7 separate regions of the Homo sapiens genome follow, and all the other regions are linked to region 3. Evidence: promoter capture Hi-C in 16 types of primary human blood cells and fetal thymus (Javierre and others, 2016). All regions are on one chromosome and are shown on one strand. Each heading gives the region's core, a stretch centred on a gene start or on the middle of the fragment in contact. The rest is flanking DNA. Distances are from core to core; before and after follow the strand shown. Region 1 overlaps MREG (melanoregulin). Region 2 overlaps MREG (melanoregulin). Region 3 holds the start of SPAG16 (sperm associated antigen 16). Region 4 overlaps PECR (peroxisomal trans-2-enoyl-CoA reductase). Region 5 has its middle 84 kb from the start of MREG. Region 6 overlaps MREG (melanoregulin). Region 7 has its middle 16 kb from the start of MREG.

What was found. The method cuts DNA at HindIII sites, captures the fragments that hold promoters and counts their contacts. A CHiCAGO score of 5 or more calls a contact.
Region 1: a contact is called between a fragment that was not itself captured here and the fragment with the promoter of SPAG16 in region 3, in 7 of 17 cell types (non-activated CD4 T cells, total CD4 T cells, naive CD8 T cells and 4 more). The highest score is 9.5, in non-activated CD4 T cells.
Region 2: a contact is called between a fragment that was not itself captured here and the fragment with the promoter of SPAG16 in region 3, in 1 of 17 cell types (total CD4 T cells). The highest score is 7.3, in total CD4 T cells.
Region 4: a fragment that was not itself captured here is called in contact with the fragment with the promoter of SPAG16 in region 3 in 5 of 17 cell types (naive CD8 T cells, total CD4 T cells, total CD8 T cells and 2 more); the score reaches 12.7 in naive CD8 T cells.
Region 5: a fragment that was not itself captured here is called in contact with the fragment with the promoter of SPAG16 in region 3 in 8 of 17 cell types (naive CD8 T cells, total CD4 T cells, activated CD4 T cells and 5 more); the score reaches 17.1 in naive CD8 T cells.
Region 6: a contact is called between a fragment that was not itself captured here and the fragment with the promoter of SPAG16 in region 3, in 8 of 17 cell types (naive CD8 T cells, total CD8 T cells, total CD4 T cells and 5 more). The highest score is 22.9, in naive CD8 T cells.
Region 7: a fragment that was not itself captured here is called in contact with the fragment with the promoter of SPAG16 in region 3 in 8 of 17 cell types (non-activated CD4 T cells, total CD4 T cells, naive CD4 T cells and 5 more); the score reaches 15.6 in non-activated CD4 T cells.

Annotation. Positions count from the first base shown.
Region 1 is chr2:215,974,632-215,977,500 of GRCh38, forward strand. All of the region lies in intron 2 of MREG (melanoregulin), which reads right to left. Among named protein-coding and RNA genes, the nearest start is that of MREG, 37 kb to the right of the region's middle. The HindIII fragment of the contact is 1,136 bases long and covers 1,013-2,148 here.
Region 2 is chr2:216,007,241-216,010,173 of GRCh38, forward strand. All of the region lies in intron 1 of MREG (melanoregulin), which reads right to left. Among named protein-coding and RNA genes, the nearest start is that of MREG, 4.8 kb to the right of the region's middle. The HindIII fragment of the contact is 1,417 bases long and covers 598-2,014 here.
Region 3 is chr2:213,282,939-213,285,851 of GRCh38, forward strand. SPAG16 (sperm associated antigen 16) reads left to right here and starts at 1,526. Exons shown (of 16, transcript NM_024532.5): 1 at 1,526-1,681. The coding sequence starts at 1,546. It overlaps SPAG16-DT (SPAG16 divergent transcript), which reads right to left and starts at 1,271. Exons shown (of 3, transcript NR_161186.1): 1 at 1,095-1,271. RefSeq lists enhancers at 1,559-1,688, 1,729-1,778, 1,849-1,928. The HindIII fragment of the contact is 3,357 bases long and covers 1-2,913 here.
Region 4 is chr2:216,073,272-216,076,506 of GRCh38, forward strand. The region is part of intron 1 of PECR (peroxisomal trans-2-enoyl-CoA reductase); the gene reads right to left. Among named protein-coding and RNA genes, the nearest start is that of PECR, 6.9 kb to the right of the region's middle. The HindIII fragment of the contact is 2,894 bases long and covers 1-2,814 here.
Region 5 is chr2:215,927,793-215,930,979 of GRCh38, forward strand. No RefSeq gene overlaps it. Among named protein-coding and RNA genes, the nearest start is that of MREG, 84 kb to the right of the region's middle. RefSeq lists an enhancer at 1-345. The HindIII fragment of the contact is 6,678 bases long and covers 1-3,187 here.
Region 6 is chr2:215,944,228-215,947,113 of GRCh38, forward strand. MREG (melanoregulin) reads right to left here. Exons shown (of 5, transcript NM_018000.3): 3 at 2,796-2,886; 4 at 1,344-1,507; 5 at 1-770. The coding sequence ends at 636. Among named protein-coding and RNA genes, the nearest start is that of MREG, 68 kb to the right of the region's middle. The HindIII fragment of the contact is 1,633 bases long and covers 727-2,359 here.
Region 7 is chr2:216,027,612-216,030,500 of GRCh38, forward strand. It overlaps a transcript of MREG not described here and a transcript of PECR not described here. Among named protein-coding and RNA genes, the nearest start is that of MREG, 16 kb to the left of the region's middle. The HindIII fragment of the contact is 7,587 bases long and covers 1-2,889 here.

The DNA.
Region 1 (2,869 bases), core at 331-2,830, 2.7 Mb after region 3:
ATTAGCATGTGACTTTACAGGCAGGGGAGGGGAAGACAGCTGCAAAGAAAGGTACTGATGTAAAGGAAGAATCTTAGACCCTTGGAAAGATAAATGCTGACCAATGGCTTCATCGCCTTTCTGCTTTATCTACTCTGGTGAAATTCCTCAAAGCCTGCTCCAGTTCCTAAACACAGACACAGACACACACACAGACACACACACACACACACACACACACACTCTCTCTCTCTCTCTCTCTCTCCCTCTCTCCACCTCCCACTTTCTCCAGCACACCCACAGTAAATCAAAGCAAAACAGTTTAGAAAGATCCAGGGAAACAGCCACCACAAAATGTGTTAGGAAATAACAGGGAGAGAATTTTATTTTATATGAATTATATATATATATATATATGAAATAATACCTCTGAATTGTATTCAAACTGTACAGAAAACTATAAAGTTAAAGGAAAGTAAAAGCCTCCTTCCCTCCACCTACTTCTACTGCAGGTAACAGTCCACAAATCTTATCATTGTACATTAGCATATACATGCTTTTACACAAATGGGATAACATTATACATACCCATTTAGCAATAGATCATAACCGTCTTTCTAAGTCACTATCTATAAATCCTATCTCATTATTTTTCAAGGTATATAGCATTCATTAGTGAAGCTACTTAAGATGTACTTAACCAGTACTTTCATTGGGTAGTTTTATTTCTATACTTTTGCCTTTCATAACCATAACTTTGTTTAGCAGTGTGAGAATGGTGCCCACTGACCATAGGCTAGATTGACAGCAAAACTGCTGGATGAGTTGACTTAATTTAGTTGCAATATGTAGGCTATTCTACCTTAAAAAGAGCTAGTCAGTGCAACCTAAATGACTGCCACAGAAGCCAAGGAGCTGTTTTGATCACAAGGAATACCATTTGGGGGCAGCCACATCCCATGGGCTCAGCCAAGAGAAAAATGTAAATCTTTACTAGACACTGCCACAGTCCATTCGGGCAGAGATTTTCCAAAGCTTAATAACCTCATAGGTTTCTGTACCTTCAGTCAGCTTTATATATTAAATAATGCATCAAGAAAATGAATAAGCCTTCAGTTGGGAAAGTGTAACTATCAATGGGCAACAGAGATGATATCATTATTTGACAGGAAGACAGTCAAGAAGTCTCATAGGGCCGGGCGCCGTGGCTCACACCTGTAATCCCAGCACTTTGGGAGGTTGAGGCGGGCAGATTGCCTGAGGTCAGGAGTTCAAGACCAGCCTGGCCAACACGGTGAAACACTGTCTCTACTAAAAATACAAAAAGTAGCCGGGCATGGTGGTGTGCACCTGTAATCCCAGCTACTCGCGGGGGGCGTGGTATGGGGGAGCTGGGCTGAGGCAGGAGAGTCGCTTGAACCCAGGAGGCAGGGGTTGCAGTGAGCCAAGATCGCACCACTGCCCTCCAGCCCAAGTGATAAAGCAGGACTCCGTCTCAAAAAAAAAAAAAAATGGGACAGTAGGATGTCATTTCCTCACTGAGCCTTGGCAGTGCATTAAGTTCCACTTGCAACAATCTGCGTGTTTCACTCGGACTACAATTTCTTGAAACTCTACCTTCCATTCTATCCCATGCATCTTGCCTTCTATTCCAAATCTGTTGGTTCTGTCTGGGTATCTGCCCAGCCTCTTCAACTAGAGCCTTTATTTGAAATACATCCCTTGCTCTTAGCCCCATATTCACACAATATTACATTATTCTAGATTTGCTTTGATTCCACATTCTGCTACCTGCCTTCCCAAATTTCTGCCTGTACCCAGTGCTTAAGGCTACTACTCATCTGGGGATGACATTCAGAAATCACCATCTACCACCATCAAAGGACAGGAGGTTCTGGCCAAATGACATGAATAACTTTATACTGGAGAGGAAAGCACCGAGTTATCATACCTTGAGGACAACGGTAGTTGGTGTGGTATAGGTAACGTATTTAGAGCAACATCTGGAGTACAGGGAGTGCTCCATAAGTGTCAGTTGTCGGGAAGCCCATCAGACTAACAGCGGATCTCTCAGCAGAAACTCTACAAGCCAGAAGAGAGTGGGGGCCAATATTCAACATTCTTAAAGAAAAGAATTTTCAACCCAGAATTTCATATCCAGCCAAACTAAGCTTCATAAGTGAAGGTGAAATAAAATCCTTTACAGACAAGCAAAGGCTGAGAGCTTTTGTCACCACCAGGCCTGCCTTACAAGAGCTCCTGAAGGAAGCACTAAGCATGGAAAGGAACGACTGGTACCAGCCTCTGCAAAAACACGCCAAATTGTAAAGACCAAGGATGCTAGGAAGGAACTGCATCAACTAACGGGCAAAATAACCAGCTAACATCATAATGACAGGACCAAATTCACATATAACAATATTAACCTTAAATGTAAATGGGCTAGATGCCCCAACTAAAAGACACAGACTGGCAAACTGGATAAAGAGTCATGACCCATCAGGGTGCTGTATTCAGGAGACTCATCTCACTTGCAGAGACACACATAGGCTCAAAATAAAGGGATGGAGGAAGATCTACAAAGCAAATGGAAACCAACAAAAAGCAGGGGTTGCAACCCTAGTCTCTGATAAAACAGACTTTAAACCAACAAAGATCAAAAGAGACAAAGAAGGCTATTACATAATGGTAAAGGGATCTATTCAACAAGAAGAACTAACTATCCTAAATATATATGCACCCAATACAGGAGCACCCAGATTCATAAAGCAAGTCCTTAGAGACCTACAAAGAGACTTAGACTCCCACACAACAATAATGGGAGATTTTAACACCCCACTGTCGATATTAGACAGATCAACGAGACAGAAAATTAACAAGGATATCTAGG
Region 2 (2,933 bases), core at 56-2,555, 2.7 Mb after region 3:
AGTGATGTTTCCAAGGACATTCATGAACATGCCTAGAGTGACAAAAAATTTAGAGTTGCCTGAGACGCACAGCCCCAGCCGAGGTCAAAAGGCAACACTCAGGCTTCTTGGTTCAGCTCTCAGATTGGAAACAAGCGTCCTTTTTGTGATCACTTAGCAACATTTTATTTATTTATTTATTTATTTATTTATTTATTTATTTATTTTGAGATGGAGTCTCGCTCTGTCACCCAGGCTGGAGTGCAGTATCTCAATCTTGGCTCACTGCAACCTCCGCCTCCCAGATTCGAGTGATTCTCCTGTCTCAGCCTCCAGAGTAGCTGGGATTACAGGCATGTGCCACCACGCCCAGCTAATTTTTGTATTTTTAGTAGAGATGGGGTTTCACCACGTTGGCCAGGCTGGTCTCATACTGCTGACCTCAAGTGATCCACCTGTCTTGGTCTTCCGAAGTGCTGGGATTACAGGTGTGAGCCACTGCACCCAACCCCCACTTAGCGGCTTTTTTTTTGCATTTTTGTACTTTTAGCTGGCAATTTCACTGTTTAGAATATCTCCCAAAGTGTAGTGCTGAAGTGCTAACATACATGTTGGATAAGCTTCACTCCAACCTGAGATATAGGGTGTTGGCCATGAGTTCAATGTTGATAGAGCAACAATATATATTAAATAAGGTGTCTTTAGGCAGAAACACATAAAAAAAGTTATGCATTGATTGGTTGACAGGGATCTAATCCTGCCATCGGCTCACAGGAACCTAACTCTGTATTTCCCCTAGGAACAATGGTTCAGTATTCACTAATTCAGTGTTCAAGCGACTTTACAGAACCTAACTACCACAGACAACAAGAATCAGCTGTGCTTCATAGGGCTATGGTGGGGATTTCATTAACAGATATAGAAGAAATGGTTTAGTTTGAGTCACGCCGCTTGGGGCAGAGACTGAGTTGAAGAGGAAAGTGTCTCTGACAAGGAAGTTCATCTTCCCTGCCCTCATGCTCCTGATCCTGTACAGATTGGGCTTAGTGCTTGTGACAGACTAGGCACTGTTGTAAATGCTTTGTATCTGTGGGCCATTCAGGAAAATTCAATTTGTAACAATTGTTACTCTCTAATTTCTATTAGCTGTTAATAACTGATAATCAAACATCGTTACATCTGTCTGATTTTTCAACAGCAAAAGAAGAAATGGAAAGAATGAACAACAATAGCTATGATTTTATGTGTGGCTCTCTCTTAAGCCACCCAAGTGGACCATATAATGAGCTTCCAAATCTGTTTTGCTCCTTGTTCATCTGGATGCCCACCTGCAGCTTCCATTCATGATAACAAACTTGATGCCCTCTGCAGGCAATGAATGGACAGACGTCACTGTTTTATTTTTCTACAGTGCCTGAATTCCTGGGAGGGAAAGTAAAATAAAATCTCAGTTTGCTCTAGATGACTGTTTTGTGCCCACACAAAGGACCATTCTAAAAAGGAATTGATCAGGACCTTCGGGTGTGGGCCAAATTCAAAACAAATTGAATTTTCCTGAATGGCCCACAGATACAAAGCATTTACAACAGTGCCTAGTCTGTCACAAGCACTAAGCCCAATCTGTACAGGATCAGGAGCATGAGGGCAGGGAAGATGAACTTCCTTGTCAGAGACACTTTCCTCTTCAACTCAGTCTCTGCCCCAAGCGGCGTGACTCAAACTAAACCATTTCTGCTATATCTGTTAATGAAATCCCCACCATAGCCCTATGAAGCACAGCTGATTCTTGTTGTCTGTGGTAGTTAGGTTCTGTAAAGTCGCTTGAACACTGAATTAGTGAATACTGAACCATTGTTCCTAGGGGAAATACAGAGTTAGGTTCCTGTGAGCCGATGGCAGGATTAGATCCCTGTCAACCAATCAATACATAACTTTGTTTTATGTGTTTCTGCCTAAAGACACCTTATTTAATATATATTGTTGCTCTATCAACATTGAACTCATGGCCAACACCCTATATCTCAGGTTGGAGTGAAGCTTATCCAACATGTATGTTAGCACTTCAGCACTACACTTTGGGAGATATTCTAAACAGTGAAATTGCCAGCTAAAGTACAAAAATGCAAAAAAAAAAATGCTGCTAAGTGGGGGTTGGGTGCAGTGGCTCACACCTGTAATCCCAGCACTGAAAAAGTTCAAAGCAACCCTTGTGAAAGATCCTTCGGTGCATGACATTTACACCACAGCCAGCTTCTCTGTGTTCTGATTCAGCATCTCCCAGGCCTCTGATGTCTGTATTAGATCCTACATGGCAGTAGGCTCCATGGTGCCAAAAGACCTGAGCGTCTTTCTCCTTAAAGGTGACTGCAGCTGTGCCTCCAGGAACACAAACATGCTCAGGAGAATCACATGTTCAAGCGATTCTCCTGCCTCAGCCTCCCAAGTAGTTGGGATTACAGGTGCCCGCCACCACACCCGGCTAATTTTTTTTATTTTTAATAGAGACAGGGTTCACCATGTTGGCCAGCCTGGTCTCGAACTCCTGACCTCAGGTGATTCGCCTGCCTCGGCCTCCCAAAGTGCTGGGATTACAGGTGTGACCCACTGCACCTGGCCTCAGGTAGATTTTTATATGGCAAGAGCATGCTCTTATCACTGATGGAAGAAAGCCATGCTGCAAAAGTGAAATAATTACCAATGCTTTGGGCTCACACATCTTTCAAAAGTACTCTGTAATGGGCTGAATAGTTTCCCCCCAAAAGATATGTCCAAGTCCTAATCCCCAGTCACTATAATTATGACCTTATTTGAAAACAAGGTCTTTGCAGATGTAATTAAGTCAAGGATCTTGAGATGAAATCATCCTAGGTTTTAGGACAGACCCTAAATCCAATCACTGGTGTCCTCATAAGAGAAAAGAAAGGGAGATTTGAGACACAGAGGAGAGACACATC
Region 3 (2,913 bases), core at 276-2,775:
AGTGATGGAAGCAGGCTCTGAAAGCTGTCTCTCTGGCTCTGACACACGTACTCTCAAACACCTCCTTAGGAAGTTACTGCTACCTTTTGGTAATAAATGGGAGCTTTTATAGGATCACTGGCTTCCAGTTTTCACCAAGAAATGTAGAATGAAAAATAATACCATTTGCCCTAGCAATCCCATTACTGGGTATATACCCAAAGAAACAGAAATTGTTCTACCATAAAAACACATGTACATGCGTGTTCATTGATATTCATGATAAAGACATGGATTCAACCTAAATGCCCATCAACGGACTGGATAAAGAAAATGTGGTACACATATACCATGGAATACTATGCAGCCACAGAAGAATGAGATCATGTCCTCTCAGGGACATGAATGCAGCTGGAGGCCATTATCCTTAGCAAACTAATGCAGGAACAGAAAACCAAATACTGCATGTTCTTAGTTGTAAGTGGGAGCTAAATAATGAGAACAAATGGACACAAAGAAGGAACAACAGACACTGGGGCCTACTTGAGGAGGAGAGTGGGAGGAGGGAGAAGATCAGAAAAAATAACTATTGGGTACTACACTTAGTACCTGGGTGACGAAATAAGTTATATACCAAACCCCTGCGACATGAGCTTACCTGCACTTGTACCCCTGAACCTAAAATAAAAGTTAAGGGAAAAAAAAATATTTGCAAAGAAAAGGGCCTTGAATTTGCTTCTGATACATACGCGATATAACCTGAGGAAGATCCTCTCAGCAATAAGACTATACATGATGGGGCAAGTGTCAACTGCATACATTTGTCAGGACCAAATTTGTAGCTCATAATTTTTATGCAACTGTTTTTACCTTGGCGAGAATCAATGCTACAAATACTATTCCAAGTCTTAGTATATGGAACCAAACTCAAAACAGATGTCCAGCTAAATGCATTAAAGATCACAAGAAAGGAATTGACAAAGCTGAACACCATAGTTCTTCATTGCTAAGCATCTGAGGAGCGTCTGGTAGCTCCCCTGGGTCAGTCTTTCTATTATGATTTCTAGAACTTTATTTTTTCATTTTTTAAAAAATTCCAGGTGTTGAGAACTCACCTTTTCTAGTAGTTTTCCCTGGGAACACTTGGGGATCTACAAACATCTGAAATTGGAGGATGCTAATGGGCAAGAATCAAGAGAAAGGTAATTCAGAGACGACAACGAAGTGGGAAAGAAATTACAGGGTCAAAGCGAAAGAAAACCAAGCTGCTTGGGTAGGAAGGTGCAATGCAAGCCAATTGTTTACTGTATCTTGTCCGCTCCCAGAGCTGCGCCCGAGCTCTCGCGTTAACTAGGCAACATCGTTGCCACGGTAACTGGGAGGCGCGGGAGGGCGACAGCTCCCTGGACTCCCGGTAACCCTTACGTGCCCGGGGCTGGTCCGTGGGGCGGGGTGAGAGATGCCGGAATCTCGCGAGAGCTCCCGGGGGCCGTTGGGTAGCGTCTTCGCTGTTGCCCTTAGGGACGGCTGTGGGCCTGCTGGGGGTGGGGGCCCGAAGCGCCAGAGATGGCTGCTCAGCGAGGGATGCCCAGCTCCGCCGTGAGGGTCCTGGAAGAGGCGTTGGGCATGGGTTTGACGGCAGCCGGGGACGCGAGGGACACGGCGGACGCGGTGGCGGCTGAGGGCGCCTACTACCTGGAACGTATCCTTCCCGTGGAGGCGCGGCCCGCTGCGCTGGCGGGTAATGGGTGTTGGGACGAAGGCGAGGGCCTCCCACTGGCGGCGCCTTTTGAGCCTTGGGGCCACTCCGGAGGAGCCTCTGTTGGACTTCAAGGTGCTGTTTTTGCCACCACAGTCTTCCTGAGAGCCACTCACTGAATTTCTCGCCCTTAGTAGCCCAGGGTGTCCTGTACCTGTTAGAAGAGTTGGGAGACCTTCCAAGGCCTCATACTTAGTAACCACTCAGTACATTTTGGATGGAGGGTTGCTTTTTATGTTAAGACAGCACAACAAATTGCTTCAACCCTCCTTTCAAATAATGGGTTTCCTAAATAAGCCCTCAATCTTTCAGAAAGCCGTCCCAATAAATTCAACGGAGGAACGTTAGGAGACTAGGGAAAGACCTCTGCCATTGGACTTTAAGGAGCTGAAGCTCAGAATACCCAACCCACGATCCTGTTCGATGGTCCAGTTAATGCTTAAATGCTTAGTTTTGATAGCATTATCTTCCTGAGTAGTTCCAAGTTTGACTACTTAATAATAAATACTAATAGTATAGTTGCTTTTTTTTCTTGAGCAAATAAATAATGATCTGGTGAGCTACACAGCTCAGAGATATTAGGAATAAAGCAGATGGTGATTAGCGATTTTTATCGGAAGTACCAGAAAAATTGAATAACAATGTGTGGATAATTAGGTCCACTATTTCTTGTGTAAGGCTTTAGAACTTCTTTCCTCTAGTTATATAGATTAATTCCTACTAGGGAGACGGGGAGGGTTCATGAGAAAAAGACATGTAACTCCTTTATTCAGGGAGGTAAGAAAGAGATGATTATCTGTTCAGTTCTTAAAGATACCAAGGAAACTCCAAAATCTGCCAAATCTTATTTGTTTGTCCAACTGTAATCCTCTCCAGGTTTAATTCAAGATTTCAGAAATCCAGCAATGATTCATTTCGTGAGCTTTGACAAGCCGATTAACCTGTCCTGACTCAGGCTCAGTACACATCCACACTACAGAGAGCTTTGAAGAATTTAGCTGAAAGATTAAAGAAAATATGTAGTATTTTATTGGGTGCAAAAACGACTTTTACAGGAATAGAAATTTGAATCGCTTGAAATGAATTTGAAAGAAATATATGGGTGCTTTAGTGTCATAAATGAGGTTTTATACTGTTTTCGTAGATGTAACAGGCAGTCTTTTCCAGTGATATTC
Region 4 (3,235 bases), core at 118-2,617, 2.8 Mb after region 3:
CCATAACAATGTTTTGGTCAATGATAGACCACATGTATGGCAGTGGCCTCATAAGATTAAAGTGGAAGTTAAACATTCTTATCATCCAGTGGTGCTGTAGCCACTGTAATGTCATAGCTGCAATTACTTTATTTTTTTATAAATTTAGTTTAGCCTGTGTGTACAGTGTTTATAAATTCTACAATAGTAAACAATAATGTCTTAGGCCTTCACATTCACTTATCACTCCCTCACTAACTCACCCAGAGCAACTTCCAGTCCCGTAAGCTCCTGTGTCCTATACAGTGCTCTATACAGGTGTACCATTTTTTATATTTTATACCATATTTTTACTATATCTTTTATTTTTATTATATCTTTTGTATGTTTTTATATAATTTTATAATAAAAATACCATATTTTTATTATATCTTTTGTATGTTTAGATATGTTTAGACCACAGATATTTACCTTTGTGTTACTATTTCCTGCAGCCTTCAGCATAGTAACCTCCCGTACAGGTTTGGAGCCTAGAAGCAATAGGCTATTGACCATATAAACCATGTATATAGTAGGCTATACCATCTAGGTTTGCCTACCACTCTATGATGTTCACACTATGATGAAATCACTTAAGGATGTATTTCTCAGAAGATTTCCCTGTGTTAAGTGACACATGACTGTATATACTTCTAGACTAATCCAACACTCAGTTAGGTTTCTGTCACTTAGGAGAAATAGCTGAGCTTATCAGTGAGATGGAAAGGAGAGAAATAAGCACCCCAGGACAAGCCACCACTTCCTCCACCCACTTCTTTCTTTGATATTTCTGCCTTCAACATACACATTTTTTGCTCTAGTTCCCAGAGTAGGGCATAGGCTCTATAGGGCAGGGATGAAAAACTTTACCTAGGCTGGGTGCAGTGGCTCATGCCTGTAATCCCAACACTTTGGGAGGCCAAGGCCGGTGGATCGCTTGTATTCAGGACTTCAAGACCAGCCTGGGCATCATGGTGAAACCCCACCTCTACTAAAAATACAAAAAAATTAGCTGAGCATGGAGGCACACGCCTGTAATCCCAGCTACTCAGGAGACTAAGCCACGAGAATTGCTTGAACCTGGGGGCAGAGGTTGCAGTGAGGCAAGATTGTGCCTGGGTGACAGAGTGAGACTGTGTCAAGAAAGAAAGAAAAAGAAAGAAAAGAAAGAAAAGAAAGAAAGAGAGAGAGAAAGAAAGAAAAAAAGGAAGGAAGGAAGGAAGGAAGGAAGGAAGGAAGGAAGGAAGGAAGAAAGGAAGGAAGGAAGGAAGAGAGAGAGAGAGAAAACAAGAACACCAAGGTGATTAATGCCTAACTTTGTCCAAGACCTCGAGTAAAAAATATGTTGAGAATATAAATAGGATGATTCACATGGATTATCTAAATAGAAGTTTACTAAATTATAACTAGTTACTATCTGAAACCTCAAGACTTCAGGACAGTTGTCTACTACAAGTAAAGATGCACTGAAATACAACTTTACAAGTCCATTTACTTTCACTGCTAGAACTTTCCACTATAGACAAACTTGAACTAGGGTGCAAACATATTACAGGGAAAAACAATGCAATGCTGGGTAAAATAAAAACCTAAATGGCCATTCAGGAAATGGTTAAATAAGTTATTACAGACCCACACAATGGAATACTATGCAGCTTTAAAATGAATGAGATATGACTACAATACTACCATTGAAAAACACAAGATATGGGCCAGGCATGGTGACTCATGCTTGTAATCCCAGCAATTTGGGAGGCTAAGGTTGGAGAGTCGCTTGTGGTGAGTTCAAGACCATCCTGGATGAGACCTTGTCTCTAAAAAAATTTTTTTATTGCCAAACATTGTGGCACATGCCTATAGTTTAGATACTTGGGAGGTTGAGGCAGGAGAATCATTTCAGACAGGAGTTCGAGGCTGCAGTGAGCTATGATGACACTACTGTACTCTAGCCTGGGTGACAGAGCAAGATCCTGTCTCTAAAAAACAAAACAAAACAAAGAAAAAACAAGATATTTAAGTAGGAAAAAAAACCATTACAGAGCAGTAAGAATACTGTGATCCCAATTTTGTAGAAAACAAAATATATATACGTGTGTATACATGTGCACATTAAATTTGTAGAAAATCACCAGGAAGGGAATTTAGAAAAAGGGCAGAATGGGTAAAGCTCATTTTTTTCTTTTATACACTTCTATACTGTTTTAATTTATTGCAAACCTCTTATGCTACCTTATAATAAACTAGAAAAATATTATATATAATCCTTGCCTTTCATGCTAAATCATTTCAATAGACTTTATTTTTGTTTATATGTAGCTAGAGAGATGCAGAAAGCTCAACTGACCTGCTTAGAATAGGTATAGAAGTAGCTTGTGGATAAGGAGTTCTTTCAACATCAGAGGCTTGTAGCCCCAGTATGCTGCGTTCCTGCTTAGGCTGATACTGATCCCTTTCCATCTTCAACTCAGAATACTACATTTATTCAGCACCTTCTTGGTCCCTGGTGTTGGTAACAGGCTAGTTAGACTAGACTAGAGCAAGAAAAAATGTTGTCTTGGGTCATAATTTCCACCGGCATTTCCTAATTGCATTTTATCTACTATACCTAATTTATGTTCTACTGTAGTAACAGAAAGTGAATGATTAACTTGAAGATAAAAAAACATCTGATATGAATTCAACTTGACGATGCTAGGTTTTCCTTGATGAAATCAGGTTTCTCTCTGCCTAACAGCACCTGTCAAAGGTATAAAGGAGATCTAATTCTGCCTACAATATCCTGCTTTTGTGAGCTAAAGCTTTCTGTGTCCTCTCAGAAAAAGGAAAAGTCAAAATCCTGTGGAAGTGAAAGACATTGTTATATAAACCCAAATTGAGCAAAAAAGAAAATGTTAGCCAATTTTTTTCTTCTCTTTTCTTTTGAGATGGAATCTCACTCTGTCACCCAGGCCAGATTGCAGTGGCGTGATCTCGGCTCACTGCAACCTCCGCCTTCAGAGTTCAAGCAATTCTCATGTGTCAGCCTCCCAAGTAGCTGGGACTACAAGCATGTGCCATGCCACCACATGTGCCACAATGTTTGGAAACAGAGTCAAGCAAAGATTTTCATGCAAGGATGTAGTCTTGAGAAGTGAAAAAATGGAAATTACCTAAAAATTCAATATGAGGGAAATAGTTAAATCAATAACAATGAAATATACATGCTTCCATTTAAATA
Region 5 (3,187 bases), core at 40-2,539, 2.6 Mb after region 3:
TTAACTGATGACATTCCACCACAAAAGAAGTGTAAATGGCCGGTCCTTGCCTTAACTGATGACATTACCTTGTGAAAGTCCTTTTCCTGGCTCATCCTGGCTCAAAAAGAACCCCCACTGAGCACCTTGTGACCCCCACTCCTGCCTGCCAGAGAACAAACCCCCTTTGACTGTAATTTTCCTTTACCTACCCAAATCCTATAAAACGGCCCCACCCTTATCTCCCTTCGCTGACTCTCTTTTCGGACTCAGCCTGCCTGCACCCAGGTGAAATAAACAGCCATGTTGCTCACACAAAGCCTGTTTGGTGGTCTCTTCACACGGACGCGCATGAAACTTGGCATTGCCATTTTACAGATGAAGGCCAGGAAGTTTCAGCAATCTGCCCAAGTTAGGAAGTGGAGAGCTGGAGGTCCCACCCAGGACTGCCTCGTGGATGCAGCTTCTCTTGCCCTCATAGCTTCTCTCTCGTGATACATGTTAGGCTGTCCTACTTCCTCCAGGAAGTCACCCCACGTTCTCGTGAGCCAACAATACCATTCTTCACACATCAACAATGTGAGCCAACTCCCACATAAAATGCCGACCAACAGACCAACTGCAGGGCATTTCATCCCGAAATATGTAGCAGCTGGATACAGAACAGAAAGAGACACGAGGTGGAGACACGAGGGTTCAGGCTGGTTTGTCTACAGTGGAATGGAGTCTCCTAAACTCAATGGCAAAGGTCACAGGATGGTCAGCTGTGAGAAGAGAGCAGGGAATCAAGGGCAGCAGCTTGTTTTGTCCTACAAACACTGTCCTAAAAACACTGCAAAATTCTCATGTTGAAACAAAACTCCTGGATATCTACACAAAAATCTGCACACAAATATTCCTAGCAACATTACTCATAATACCCCAAAAGTGGAAACCACCTCACTATGAACGGAGTGTCTCCAAAATTCATATGTTGAAGTCTTAATCTCCATTGTGATGATATTTGAAGGTGGGGCTTTGGGGAGGTAATTAGGGAGAAGGAGGAGCCTTTGCGAATGGAATTGATGCCGTTAGAAGAAGAGACAGGAGAGAGATCATCTCTCTCTGCCACAGGAGGATCCAGCATAAAGATGGCGTCCTGCAAGAGCTCCCTCACTGAGCACTGAATCAGCCAGCCGCTTGATCACAGACTTCCAGACTCCAGAACTGTGAGAAATAAACGTCTGTTGTTTAAGCCACTCAGGCTGAAGCGAGTGTTGTGGCAGCCAAACAGACTAAGACAAACCCAAATGCCCATTAACTGATAAATGGATGCATAAAATGTTATAATATTGTATGCAATATTATTTCATAAAAATGAAGGAAATTATTCCACAATACAAAGGAATACAATTATGATTCATGCGACAATACGGTTGAATCTTCAAGACATTATACTAAGTGAAAGAAGTCAGGAACAAGGGTCCCATATAACCATAGGTTCCACTTACACAAACGTCCACAACACATAAATCTAGAAACAGAAACTACGTTAGTGGCTGCCTAGGGTTTAGGATGAGGAGGGTAGATGTGAAGAATGAAGGAGGTGTGACTGCAATAGGGTACAGTTTCTTTTAGGGTAATGAAAATATTCTAAAATTGATTGCAACTCTGTGGATATGCTGAAAACCATTGAATTATATACTTAAAATAGGTGAATTGCATAGTATGTGAATTATACCTCAATGAAGCTGTTACCAAAAAAACCCCCACAATATTCTACTTAGAATATTGTGCTTAGAAACAAAATAAGTTCTCCAATTGTTGGGGGTCTGGGGAGGAACTCATGGTGTTTCATCAAAATGATCCAAAATTGATTCTGTTCTGATCTAGCCTCTTCTCCCAGACATCCTTAACTCAGCAAATGGCCCCACACTCTGCCACAGCTAGAAAGCTATGAGTCATCCTTGATTTCTCCTCTTCCTGCACCATCCCCCAAATTCAAATGCATCAGCAACTCCTGTCCATTACCTCTCCAAAATACACCTCACACTTCACCCATTTATGCTCCTCCTCAATGCCACCAACCTAGTCCAAACCATCACCCTCTCTCAATTCTGACACATCTTGTTCCCATTCTTGCCATCCTCTGATCCATTCGCAATGCATGGCAAGTTATTGTTTCACAACATAAGTCAGCTCCTGGCTCTCCAAGGCAGACACCCTTCTCTGGTCGCACAAGGCAGGAACTGAAGATCCACCCTTCCTCGTGCCTCCAGCGCTCTGCTCATCATGACCCCCTAAGCTACTCCAGACATGCTCTGCTCCCTTTCGCCCTCAGCTATGCCAAAGCCTTTATCGCCTCCAGCCCTTTGCACTTGCTGTTCCCTCTGCCTGGGCCCCTCTTCCTTCACATCTTTGCATGACTGACTGGCTGTGACTCATCCTTTAAGGGTCCCAACTCAGACCTCTCTCAGAGAAGAGGCCCCTGACCACCCTGTGCAGAGGGGCCCCACTCAGTTCCACCTTATCTCATCCAGTGTTCCTGTTACAGCACTGCTTGCAAATTGTAGTTACCTTGTTTGTTTGTCTACTCTGTTCTCATCTGCCTTACCCACTAGAAACTGGATCCAATCTTTTCTTTTTATTCAAACACCTTCTATAAATATTTGCTTTTTGTTTTTGTTTTTGTTTGAGACAGGGTCTCACTCTGTTGCCCAAGATGGAGTGCAGTGGCGCGATCACTATGAAAAGATCAGGTCACAGGGATACAAAGACGACCAGGATTTGTAGTTGACCAGGATTTGGTGCTACCCTAAAAGAGGTCTTCTTTTCTGGGGGACAGGGACACAGTAATGTAAACGTGTATTTCAATGCAATATGATAAATGTTCTGAGTACTTTTGCTATTGAAGCACAGAGATAAAGCTCTCTCCAAGTCTGAGTCATATTTGTTCTGGAAGAATCAAGGAATTTTGAAGACAGAAAAATGAAGCAAGGGCTCTCCGGTTTTATTTGCAATGTTCTGTGTTTCCAAATCACTTTTAGTAATCTGCCTTTTGAGAGAGGCATCCCCTTTACCACCCTGCCTAAGAGGAAAATTAATTCGATAATTATTTAAAATTTGGTAGGTTTCAAAGGAATGGGTATTTGGAGCACACTTCACTAGTCTTTCCCCTTTTGTTTTAAAAATTTGCCAAAGTAAAAAGTTGCTTTAGAAAGTAGAAAAC
Region 6 (2,886 bases), core at 293-2,792, 2.7 Mb after region 3:
TTGGCCTCCCAAAGTGCTGGGATTACAGGCATGAGCCACCACGCCCAGCCATTCCTTGTCATTTCTATCATTTGATACATCTATACTTCTGAATAATCATAACTGATACTCAAAGAGATGCCCTGACACCCTCCAAGGTTCTACAAGGTGACCAAATCAGAGAGGTCACCTCATGCCTAGTATTATTTTGGGGTTAGCATACATTTTATAATAATTATTTTAAAACTGGCAATCCATTTTGGGACTCAATGACAGCTCTCTCTATTAATCATATTGTTTTATTAACTGAAATAGTCCACTCAGTCAGTAGGATTAATGATCAGAGATTATGACACAACTAAAACCAAAGCTGGGGCAATGGGCTCTCAGAATGGAACCACCCATTATGAACTATCCATCTGACCAACTCTTTAACTTTCTTCCTAAATATGAGATCACCAAGGCGTTTCAATGCAGCCTGCACAATTCATGGGGCAGGGTCCTCAGATTAAAGACTTTACATTTATGTAGAATTCAGTATCATTTTTCACTAAGCAAACTCTATTTGCTCACTCTCTTCTACATGTAATTGTCCAACTTTGGTTGACTGCTGAGTCCTCATGGAAGAATTCCCATTCTGCCCCTGAGCCTCTCCTTTAGGGACTTGGAAACGGAAGGTAGTGCAGTTCTTTCTGGCCATCTGCCAGGCATGGAACCCCAGGCTTCTTGGGGTAAGTTCGACGAGCAAGCTTAAAGAACTCTTCTGCAGCATCAAGTGCAATGAGACGGTCCTGCAAAAACAAACAACAAACCAAAAAACTGCTGGCAAGATAGGAACCAAGACATGTCGATGGGAAAAAGCAATCTAACAACAACAAAACCCACCCTGGAAATGACAATGAGCAAGTAAGACGTTTATTAATTTTTTCCTAACAAATGTAGAGACACGCCTTAATCCTTTAGTTACATTATCCAAGAAACATTTCCCCACTCCTTAGCGTCCTTTCTCCTTTCAGATTATTTCTTAGTCTTATAGGTTAAATAAACAATACTTCTCACATCTCTTTGACCTACAAATGGTTCAGAAAATAGACTACACAGTAGAATTCACTGAAAAATACAAACTCTTGAGCTGGAACCCAAGCCTCAGTAGGTCTACGTGTGATACAGAAATCTGAACTTTTAAAACTCTTTAGGTGATTCTGATGCTGCGGGCCACTGGGGACCACAGCATATAATGCCAGCATCTGCCACCTCATATGTGATAGTGATGGTGGTGTTGGAATACGGAGGATAGTGAATAGTTTTAAAAAGCCAAGCAATTAAAGCAAAATTAGGGCAAATGAAAAAAAGCATCCACTTACCACAACAAAGAGATATCTCTCTGAGAGCTCCCAACTTGTTGGGAAAATATTGGTTTCTTCAGCCAGTTTTAACAACATCTCTCGAGCTTTCCTTGTGTTTTTAGAATCACTGATGGTGCTGAGTTTAGTCACTGACAACAAAGAGTCAGCTTCCTTTTGAAAACCTAAGGTAGAAAAATGGACCACTCATGTAAAGTAGTCCCAAGTTAACAAGTGTTCCGCAATACGGTCCCTGCAGGAGATTACGAACAGACCCATGTGGATTCTGTACAAGCATAAAGCATCAGAAAACTGAAGCCAAAGGTACTATTCCATGTGCTGCCTCCCAGATCCATGTGATTGGCAGGATATTTAATTACAATTCTTTCGGTATTTTTTTTCTCTTTGTTAACTTTTCCCTCAGAGCCTCAGATACTCATCCACTGGTTGCTTGCCACCTTGTTTCTGGTTTGAAGCCCTCTTTCCTGTCCTCCCTACTCTTTAGCTTCTCCCCTGTCCCCAGAATTCCTACCTGCCTCCCAGCCTGCAAAGTGGTTCCCTCCAGGCTGTCCTTCTCCAAACCTGGATTTTCTTCCTCAGGGTAATATGATTAGCTGGTAAAAATCACTCACCCAAAAGTATAAAGGATTCAAAGACTTAAACCTACTTGGAGTAACTTTCATTGTTTAAAAAAAAAAAAAGGCTATTAGCTCACAACAATACTAGATATGCAAAGAGGGCAGAGATCCCATCCCATCCCATTGCATGCCAACCAAAGCCATAGAGATCGGTCACATGGCCCCCCACGCTTGAAAAGTGATGATGCCAAGATGTCATGCTCTCTTTCAAAGCAAAAGGATCAAGGACTTCAGAACTGATAAATTCACTTTTTAAACATTGAAGCAGGATTATATAATGTGGGGGCCACATTTATTGTATCACAATCCCGGGAGAATTGAGAAAAATCATTATCATTAACCATTAGTGATGAGGGCAGGTATCTACCCTAATGCCACAAGTGTTTTTCCCAACCTCGAAGCTTTTCTTCCATATTTCTTCCGAAATTCTACACTGAGTTTTGCTGTCTGTCTTGCAAACAATATTTCTCCCAACCTGCTTCATCTTACAAAGCTATGACTAATTGGCCAACACCCCATCTAATTAAATTAATGTACAATGCCAAAAAAGTAAATGTTAGTGCCCACATGACTGCACTGGCATGCGTACCCTATACTAGGGACAGATGGAGTAACACATGGCAGAGTGTGTCCTGAAGACATGGACTGGTGACAACAGAAACATCAGGCATTTATGCTTGAGGATATAAGAGCAAGATTGGGAGAATAATTAGTACACAGTAGTCTTAATTAGGCAATTATTGACATTCCTTTTATAAAAACCATGGTGGAGAAATTGAAGAATAATGATCACAACGAGTTATTTTTACCATTTCACAATCTCTTTTAGACTTACCTAAATCTTCTAAGATGCACTTCCATCTGTTTCTTACTTCCCTTCGAACCTGCCGCAGGGTATGGATATCATAGTTGAGCTTCTGCCACTC
Region 7 (2,889 bases), core at 268-2,767, 2.7 Mb after region 3:
GAACCTAGGAAGCAGAGGTTGCAGTGAGCCAAGATCACACCACTGCATTCCAGCCTCGGTGACAGAACAAGAATCTGTCTCAAAAAAGAAAAAGGCATGAGGTAGTTAAGACACTAGGACCTTGAAAGAAGGAAAGAAACAGAAAGTGTCAGTTTAAAATTTGCCTAATATCAAAAATGTCCATTCTGAACAAGAGTCAAGCCAACTCTCCCTTCCCCCACCCTCTGTGATAAAAAGTCATTCACAAGTTGCATTGTTTTTCTGAAAGCATTCTAAATCTGAAAATGTCGAATAAATTTTCAAAGACACTAAATTTCAAAATACACTTAAAGTCAATTATTTAATAAAACTTGAAATTTTAATGTTTAATTCTCAACATTATAGTTTTCTGATTTTTCTATGTAAATACAGTTACTTCACAAGGAAAATTTTAGAATTTGAGGCAGGGCATTTTGACTTCCATACAAGAGTTTGGACTTCTACACTAAAACCAAATAATGCTTCATGTAAATATAATGTAAAACATAGGCTTTAAGTGGAAATAAATGACATGTATAGTGTGGTATGGTTGCAAACCATTGAAAGAGATGTCTTTCACGAACTTGCTCAAAATACCCAGATAGGCCGGGCACGGTGGCTCACGCCTGTAATCCCAGCACTTTGGGAGGCTGAGGCAGATGGATCACGAGGTCAGGAGATCGAGATCACGAGGTCAGGAGATCCTGGCTAACACGGTGAAAGCCCGTCACTACTAAAAATACAAAAAATTAGCTGGGCGTGGTGGCGGGCACCTGTAGTCCCAGCTACTCGGGAGGCGGAGGCAGGAGAATGTCATGAACCCGGGAGGCGGAGCTTGCAGTGAGCCGAGATCGCGCCACTGCACTCCAGCCTGGGCAACACAGCAAGACTCCATCTCAAAAAAAAAAAAAAAAAAAAACCCAGATAATCTGAAAATATATACAGATCAATGGAAAAAATTCCATTTGATATTTCTAGGCAGGATTTTAATGTGTGATAGCTGACATAGATTTCCAGTAATTGTGTATTTATTTAATTCCATTTTTTCTCACTGTACTCTAGATATTTTCTCAAACATACTTGGATTTTGGGAATTCGAATTTGTATAGTGTTAAGGTAATGCATATTTGAATTTATCTTGCTGTTTGAGAAATTTGAATTCTACCAATTACAGACAATTCTGTAATTGTCTATAACAACAGTAGGAATTGCACACTTAAAATCATTAAAATGGCAAAATTTATGTTATATATATTAGTTACACCACAATAAAGAAAAAGAACATAAAAAGGAAGAAAAAAATAAGGCTTTTTCTCTGAGAGAGAAAAAGAGAGACACAGTTTTGGTTTTCCCCCCATTGGAATATGGAGTTAAGTGCAGACCACTCAAGATACACAAATTTCTGACCAGAGCACTTACAAGTAGCAATTCCAAAATAAATACCAGTACAATAAAAAAGATGTTATATTCATCTTTATTTATTTATTTAAAAGGAAATAAATAATTTCCTGTAAAATAAAAGGATGAAAGCAGCTTGATGGCAGCAGATGTAAAGAAGGATTGAGGCTGGCCAGGCGTGGTGGCTCACGCCTGTAATCCCAGCACTTTGGGAGGCTGAGGCAGGCAGATCACGAGGTCAAGAGATTGAGACCATCGTCGCCAACATGGTGAAACCCTGTCTCTATTAAAAATACAAAAATTAGCTGGGCGTGGTGGCGCGCTTCTGTAGTCCCAGCTACTCAGGAGGCTGAGGCAGGCGAATTGCTTGAACCTGGGAGGTAGAGGTTGCAGTGAGCTGAGATCACGCCACTGCACTCCGCCTGGCGAGAGAGTGAGACTCCATCTCAAAAGAAGGATTGAGGCTGCTGAGTTAGGACGACAAAGGCAAAATGATAAACACAAGGCAGAAGGTGCTTATGCACCTCCCCCTGCCTCCAGGCTGGCCCTTGGGCTTGAAGAACTAGAAACACAAACTTGTTATCCCTCTTTCCAGAGTTCTCAAAATACAAGGATGCTAAGTCATGCTCACAAACTCGCCAGAAGCTGAAATACACAGCCTAGACTAACACAAAACTCCCAGCATGGCTGAAAATGCCTAGGGCCAGAATAGTCCAGTATTTCCCTTCAGGCAAAGTTGCACAGCAAATCAAAGTTTTAGATTTGTTTTTGACAGGGATTCAGAGGAAAAGGAGATGGTTTAATGAATTTAGCTCTGAGAGTCTCATGCATCATTTTACAAGAGAGGAATGTGCATGCCAAGCAAACCAAATGTTTGTAGCCTATGGCTGAGTCGTATCTCTTATGGCCTGTGGTCGGTGCACATGCTCATGGTGGTCACATGGGCTTCTCATATGCTATCATGGTGGACCAGTCTCCCACTGTGAGCCCCATCTTTGTGTTCACATTCATATTTTCAACCACCTTAAAATTACTGCTTGCTCTGAAATGACAGGTTAAAAGGTTATAAAGAAGATTTAGGTTTCAAATTTGTTCTAAAATACTTATAAATCAAGGGGGACAGATAGACAAATTTGTAAAAATATAGATTATTGGGGGTGATGGGTACTATTACACTATTCTCTTTAGCCTGTGTTTGAGAAATTCCATTAAAAATTTTCAAAATAATCTCTTCATTGTCCTTGGTGCTGGTCTGTCTCTCTCAGTACAGGGCAGGGGTCGGGGCTCTGAAGCCAAACTCCTTTGGTTCCAATGCCACTTCTGCCATGTGCTGAGATCTTGAACAAGTTTCTTGACCTGTTCATGCCAGTTTCCTCAACTGTAAAATGCTGGTAATAATGAAACTACCTCACAGAGTTTTTGTAAGGCTAAAATGAGATAATGCATGGAAAGGGCTTAGCAGTGTCAGGCATA